2 separate regions of the Homo sapiens genome follow, and region 1 is linked to region 2. The links are contacts of gene promoters, found by promoter capture Hi-C in human tissues and cell types (Jung and others, 2019). All regions are on one chromosome and are shown on one strand. Each heading gives the region's core, a stretch centred on a gene start or on the middle of the fragment in contact. The rest is flanking DNA. Distances are from core to core; before and after follow the strand shown. Region 1 overlaps PKD2L2 (polycystin 2 like 2, transient receptor potential cation channel). Region 2 holds the start of WNT8A (Wnt family member 8A).

Evidence for each region. The method cuts DNA at HindIII sites, captures the fragments that hold promoters and counts their contacts. A contact is called where the count stands out against the background at its distance.
Region 1: a contact is called between a fragment that was not itself captured here and the fragment with the promoter of WNT8A in region 2, in 3 of the 25 tissues and cell types used here (aorta, bladder and hippocampus).

What each region holds. Positions count from the first base shown.
Region 1 is chr5:137,890,125-137,893,622 of GRCh38, reverse strand. PKD2L2 (polycystin 2 like 2, transient receptor potential cation channel) reads right to left here. Exons shown (of 15, transcript NM_001300921.2): 2 at 3,041-3,142; 3 at 1,010-1,143. Among named protein-coding and RNA genes, the nearest start is that of PKD2L2, 2.4 kb to the right of the region's middle. The HindIII fragment of the contact is 6,072 bases long and covers 1-3,498 here.
Region 2 is chr5:138,082,081-138,085,585 of GRCh38, reverse strand. It overlaps WNT8A (Wnt family member 8A), which reads right to left and starts at 1,553. Exons shown (of 5, transcript NM_001300939.2): 1 at 1,303-1,553; 2 at 950-1,088. The coding sequence starts at 1,458. The HindIII fragment of the contact is 19,757 bases long and covers 1-3,505 here.

The DNA.
Region 1 (3,498 bases), core at 688-3,187, 190 kb after region 2:
TACCAAACATAGCTCCACATGTAGAATTACTTATAGAACATATTGTTCCTTCTTCCTAAAATACCCATCCCTGATTCATGCTTCAAAATGCAACTAAATTGTCATCACCACTGGAAGCGTTCTCTGCCTTGTCCTTATATGCCCCAATGTGCATATGCCAGGTTTTGTGACCTGGGATAGCTGAAACTGCTGTCCCCTTAACTGTTCTTTCTTCATAATGTGAGCATGTTGCTATGTTAAATGTAATGGAAAAAGCAAGTCTATTCCACTGCTGAAGGAATGATTCCCTTACGTAAGTAAAAACACCATGAAATTATATTCTTATATATAAATTTTATTATATACTGTACCTTACTGTAACACATATAAACAGTAAAGGTTTTATGCCAAAACCACATATATTACACTTTCTGGGCAATTAAAGAAATTTTTAAAAGTAAATTTCACTATACACAATTATAGACTAGATCCTAACCCTCACATAGTAGATGCAAGTCTTCTATTTAACAAATGAAATGAGAATGTCTAAAAAAATCAAAAAAAATTTTTTTTTTGAGATGGAGCCTAGCTCTGTTGCCCAGGCTGGAGTGCAATGGCATGATCTTGGCTCACTGTAACCTCCACCTCCCGGGATTACAGGTGGCTGTCACCATGCCTGGCTAATGTTTGTATTTTTTAGTAGAGACGAGGTTTCACCAAGTTGGTCAGGCTGGTCTTGAACTCCTGACCTCAGGTGATCCACCCGCCTTGGCCTCCCAAAGTACTGGGATTACAGGCATGAGCCACCGTGCCTGGCCAAAAAAATTTTTTAAAAAATTACAAGAATAGTATCAAACTGAGAACACAGGCTCTCAAAAACACTTACTGGTTGGTTGTTTCTAATAGTTTAAAGAAATGACATTTATTTTTATTCATTTCTTCAAAAGATATTCATTGAGTGCCCACTGTGTATGCCAAGGGTTCATGGACTACCTAAATCTACTTCATCCACAGTCACAAGATACTTTACCTTCCAAAAATCAGTTATGCTGCGAATGGACTTAAAGTTGGTTCTTTCTTCACCAGGCACAGAAGTGTCCAAAAATAGAGATGACATAACCTTGTTTAAGTAATACATATGTGGGTTTACCATCCCAAAAGTCACTAAGGAGAATAATTTTTTGTTTAATAATTTACATTTAAAAACTCAGCTTATCAGGATTAAAAATGTTACATTTTTTTCTCAATTTTGAAAATTAAACTTTATTAATCTAATTATAAAAGTAATAATTTAAAAAATCTAAACTAGAAATATAAAAAGTAGGATGTGGTTTCTAGAATTAGTCTGGCAAATATTCTTCAGACATTTCTTTATGCATACACATTTATAAAGAAAATAATTTTATCTTTACAAAAATGAGGACACATTATACACACTATTCTGCAAGTTGACTTTTTCTCTACATGAGAGTAAGGCAATATAGTATGGTGAGTGGTTAAGGTTACATGGACTTTGAATTCAGACAGATAAGGGTGTGAGTCCCATCACAGGGATAGTATCTCTTACCCCCTAGTTTTGTTGTGAGAAGTGAGATGATGCACACAGAACATTTTAAACTGTGTTTTGGCACATGATGAGTTTTTAAAAATATTAACTAGTGGCGGGGCGTGGTGTTGCACCCATAATCCCAGAACTTTGGGAGGCTGAGGTGGGTGGATCACCTGAGATCAGGAGTTCGAGACCAGACTGACCAACATGGTGAAAACCCTGTCTCTACTAAAAACATACAAAATTAGCCGGGCGTGGTGGCACAGGCCTGTAATCCCAGCTACTCCGGAGGCTGAGGCAGGAGAATCGCTTGAACTCAGGAGGTGGAGGTTGCAGTGAGCCACTGTACTCCAGCCTGGGTGACAGAGCGAGACTGTCTCAAAAAAGAAAAAAAAAAGAAAAAAAATCACATTATAAATGGAGATTCAGGTTGCTGTATTATATTAAAAAAAGTGTTCTTTAAAAATCTCTGAATAATGGGATTATAAATGATCTTTTTACTTACATTTTTACATTTTCCAAATGTTCTGTAGTAAGCATGTAGTTTTCATAACCAAGCTTTTATAAAGCAGTCTAAGATATCTTAATTTATAAAGTTGCCTACAGTTATCTTTTTTTTTTTTTTCCTTGGGACAGGGTCTCAGCCTGTCACCCAGGCTGAAGTGCAGTCGTTGCAATCACAGTTCACTGCAGCCTCGACCTCCTGTGCTCAAGCAATCCTCCACCTCAGCCTTCTCAGTAGCTAGGACTACAGGGGTGTGCCACCACACCTGGCTAATTTTATAGTTGTCTTTTCAATCAAGAGCAGACTCAAACTCACCCCTACAACACCAATTAATTACTTAATTGCTATACAATTGCCAGTGTGTAGCACATACCAACATGAGACAATACTGCCAGTGAGCTTTCATCTACTGTTATGTTGGGTGCCATCGACAAATGCTCTTTAATACTCCTCTTTGCATATTAAGCCAATGCTATTGACCCACAGGTAGGAGGAATGCAGGTTGAGATGTTTTCCCAGTCCTCCTTAATTATTTGCATTGACTCAGCACAAACTATTTTTTTAACTGCAATAGGTCAGTGAAAAGAACCAAGCTAATGGCAGACACCAAGATGAACTTTGGCCTCATTTGTACTTTGATTTATGAAACTCAGCTGATGTGTCTATATGACTCTAAACAAAATCAAATTGCAGTTGCCAACCCAAGGGATGAATTATGCTCAAGACAGAACTGCCAAATGAAAGGAATAATTCTAATTCAGTCAGTATTGACTATGGAAGCTTCTTACATTTGCGATGTAAAATTTTGCCCCTTAAGAACTGAAAATAGTCAATTTCTAAATGAAATGAATCTAAATGAATTTAAGATTATGTTTAAACGTGTCACTGTATTTTGAGTTTTAGTAGCCTGACAGCCTGTGGTTTTGAAGTTTGTATGTTTTATTTTTCATCTCCACATTTTAACTTCTTAGTTCAAACAAACAGCATCTTTATATCTGTGTACTTACATATACATAGGTTTATTAAAAAAATAAAGTAGAGTAACAATTCCTGAAGTGTGGTTGTAATTTCTACTTCCTTTCTGTAATGCAACTTATGTTTCGAAGCCCCTGTGAGATATAAGACAAAATTTTTCTTTACATTATTATGTAATTTATAAGTGACAACAATGGAAAAACCACAGCCACTTTTAGTCCTTACACTGCGGGGAGGAAAGCTCCAATAGCTTCTGGCTATTTTTCAATTCTTAGTTTTACGAGGCAGGGATAATTTTTTTACTATATACTATTAATAACAGATTTTTTTTTTGAGACGGAGTCTAGCTCTGTCGCCAGGCTGGAGTTCAGTGACGCGATCTCGTCTCACTGCAGCCTCCGCCTCCCCGGTTCAAGCGATTCTCCTGCCTCAGCCTCCCGAGTAGCTGGGACTACAGGCGCGCGCCACCACACCCAGCTAATTTTCGTAT
Region 2 (3,505 bases), core at 304-2,803:
TGGTTCCAACACGTGCTTAGCCACTTTCTCCGTCTTCTTTACTCTCGTTCCCCTAACTATTCTCAGGTGAATGTTATCTTCAAAAATGACATGCAAACTACGGCACACAGTTACAAATGGGTGCACGTGCACACCCATACACACACATAGACACACACCCCACCTGAGGCACAACTCAATGTGACGTCTCAGCTTTTCTGTTGAGATTTTATGGCAGTTAGCCATGTGAAACTTCCTCAGGAGCTGCAAACACACAGCCCTTTCCCCATTTTTATTTCATGCAACTCAGTGCAAGATCAGTGTGTACAAACGCACAAATATAGGCATGCATTTAAAAAATAGAGTAATTTCCGCTGGGCACGGTGGCTTACGCCTGTAATCCCAGCACTTTTGGAGGCTGAGGTGGGTGGATCACCTGAGGTCAGGAGTTTGAGACCAGCCTGGCCAACATGGTGAAACCCCATCTCTACTAAAAATACAAAAAATTAGCCAGGCATGTTGCATGCCTGTAATCCCAGCTACTCGGGAGGCTGAGGCAGGAGAATCACTTGAACTCCGGAGGCGGAAGTTGCGGTAAGCCGAGATTGCGCCATTGCACTCCAGCCTGGGCAACAGAGTGAGACTCCGTCTCAAAAAAAGAAAAAAAAAAAAGAGTAATTTCCTACATTTATCTCATACATAGAGACACCTCATACCCACCTCATTCAACCCATAGGATACTTCTGATGAACTAAACAGAACTGGCCTTACTGACCCAAATGACAAATCTGGGGCTGAGAGAGGGTAGGTAATTTACTCAAGGCCACACAGCAAGGAAATGGCAGGTCAGCAGGTCACTGGCAGCATTTTTATTTCACTGTGCAATACATGTCACACATATACACATACTGCAAGCCCCACTCCATTCACATATATACCCCTTGTACAGGTGAGTCCCACACAAACTTACCACTTCTCAGCCTGTTGTGGGTGGAGAGCTGAAGAGCATTTTCAGGGCAGTTCCAGCGTTCCCAAGCAAACTGGAACTTGCACTCCTCGATGCCACTCTGGGCACCCAAGGCCACACTAGTCGTGTAGGTCAGATAGGCCTGGCAAAGGGAAAAGGGCTGTGAGCTTCTGCCCGGTATGGGTCATCTGTGGTTGGGGGAGCAGGCAGGACTCAGATGGGCCAGCTCTCCATTAAGAATCAACCATGGGTTCCTCTGGGTGAGGGGCTCTGGCACTGTCCCCGCCCCTCTTTTCTCCAGAAGAGTCCCCTTAGGGCCCTCAGTGGGTAAAAACAGAAGCTGGAGATCATCCTACCTTGGGACCTGTTATCAGGAAATTGTTCACTGACCTACCAAAAAGAGAAAAAGTGAGGCAGAGGTGAATGGGGATGAGACAATGGGGGCCTCCTTGGCAAGGAGTGAGGGTTGGGAAAGGACTTACCAGGCAGAGGCACTGAATGCAGCACAGCATATGCCCAGAGCTGCCCAGAGCATAAACAGGTTCCCCATCGCCCTGCCTACCCCAGTGGACCAGGTCCAGCTCAGGGCCAAGTCCAGAGAAGTGAGGAGAGGGCAGGGTCTTCCTCAGTATTTATGTGAGAAAATTCTGAATGTCCAAGGGAGGAAATCAGCAGCTCTTCTCATTTGTTCCTAACTGGCAGGGCTGCAGGAGCCACCGGCCCAGTGGGGGATCTGGGAGGAGGGACTCAGTTTTCGCCAAAAGCCCCGCCCTGCCCAGCCCCTCCAGCCCTTCTTCCCTCCCAGAATGAGAAGGAGGCTGCTTTTCTCCTATACGTGAGATTTCTTTCTTCTATATGTCAATTTTGTCTCTTCCTGCTTCTTTGGCCCATTTCTCAGAATCATGTAGGCCAGAGCAGGCTGGGTCCTTAACCCTGAAGGCAGGTCACCTATTCTTGGAGCTACAGTGTCCTCATCTGTCAGTGAGAGCCCACTCTCTGTCCTGCCATCCTCCCCAAGGTGTTAATAATCATAAAGCAACTCCATCTGGGGCTGCTTCCTACTCATTTACCTAAACCAGTGAGTGCGCCATCCCTACCACTTCCTTCAAGGCTGTGAGGTGATGGAGCTGTGGGACTATGGAGCAGGAACACTTCAGAGTCCATCTCTGCAACAGTCCCTTCCACCACATTCTAGCAACTGCTGGGAAATTTCCTTAATTCCTAGCAAATCTATCCTTTTATATCTGAGGGTTACAACTCCAGTTAGTTGATTTTTTATATATCTGAGAACCAACCTTAGGGCCACCCAGGGTTATATTTGGGAAGACTGATGCCTTTCTCTTTTTTTTTTTTTTTTGAGACAGAGTCTCTCGCTCTGTCGCCCAGGCTGGAGTGCAGTGGTGCAATCTCAGCTCACTACAACCTCTGCCTCCTGGGTTCAAGTGATTCTCCTACCTCAGCCTCCCAAGTATCTGAGACTACAGGTGCCAGCCACCACACCCAGCTAAATTTTGTATTTTTAGTAGAGAAGGGGTTTCGCCAGTTGGCCAGCCTGGTCTTGAACTCCTGGGCTCAAGTGATCTGCCCACCTTGGCCTCCCAAAATGCTGGGATTATAGGCATGAGCCACTGGGCGTGGCCCTGATGCCTTTCTTTCTGATACTACTTTGTTACTAGGACTTCAGCTCCTTAGGTGGGAATCTGTCTTTTATTTTATTTTATTTATTTATTTATTTATTTATTTATTTATTTATTTATTTATTTTGAGATGGAGTCTCACTCTGTCGCCAGGCTGGAGTGCAGTGGCATGATCTCGGCTCACTGCAACCTCCACTTCCTGGGATCGAGCAATTCTCCTGCCTCAGCCTCCGGAGTAGCTGGGATTACAGGTGTGCGCCACCATGCCCAGCTAATTTTTGTATTTTTAGTAGAGACGGGTTTCACCATGTTGGCCGGGATGGTCTCGATCTCTTAATCTCGTGATCCACCTGCCTCGGCCTCCCAAAGTGCTGGGATTACAGGCGTGAGCCACCATACCCAGCCTTATTTTATTTTATTTTTTGAGGCAGAGTTTCACTCTTGTCACCCGGGCTGGAGTGCAAGTGTGCCATCTCAACTTACTGCAACCTCCACCTCTGTGTTCAAGTGATTCTCCTGCCTCAGCCTCCCCAGTAGCTGAGATTACAGGCATGTGCCACCATGTCCAGCTAATTTTGTACTTTTAGTAGAGACAGGGTTTCCCTATGTTGGCCAGGCTGGTCTCAAACTCCTGACATCAGGTGATCCACACGCCTTTGGCCTCCTGAAGTGCTGGGATTACAGGCATGAGCCACCGCACCCAGCCAGGAATGTCTTTTAGGTTCACTTTCGGTTCTTAGAGCTTAAGAAGGCACCTGGATGAACAAACGAAAGACCCTGTGACCCCTAGTGGGCACCATTAGGTATGCTTGGGGACTAGAACAAAAGGTGGGAAAGTCCTTCTTGGTTGCTGAAGCTCTTTCCTAAGGCTGGAGAAGGAAGTCTAGAGAAGTTCAGAGGAAAGCATAGATGGAAAGTCACA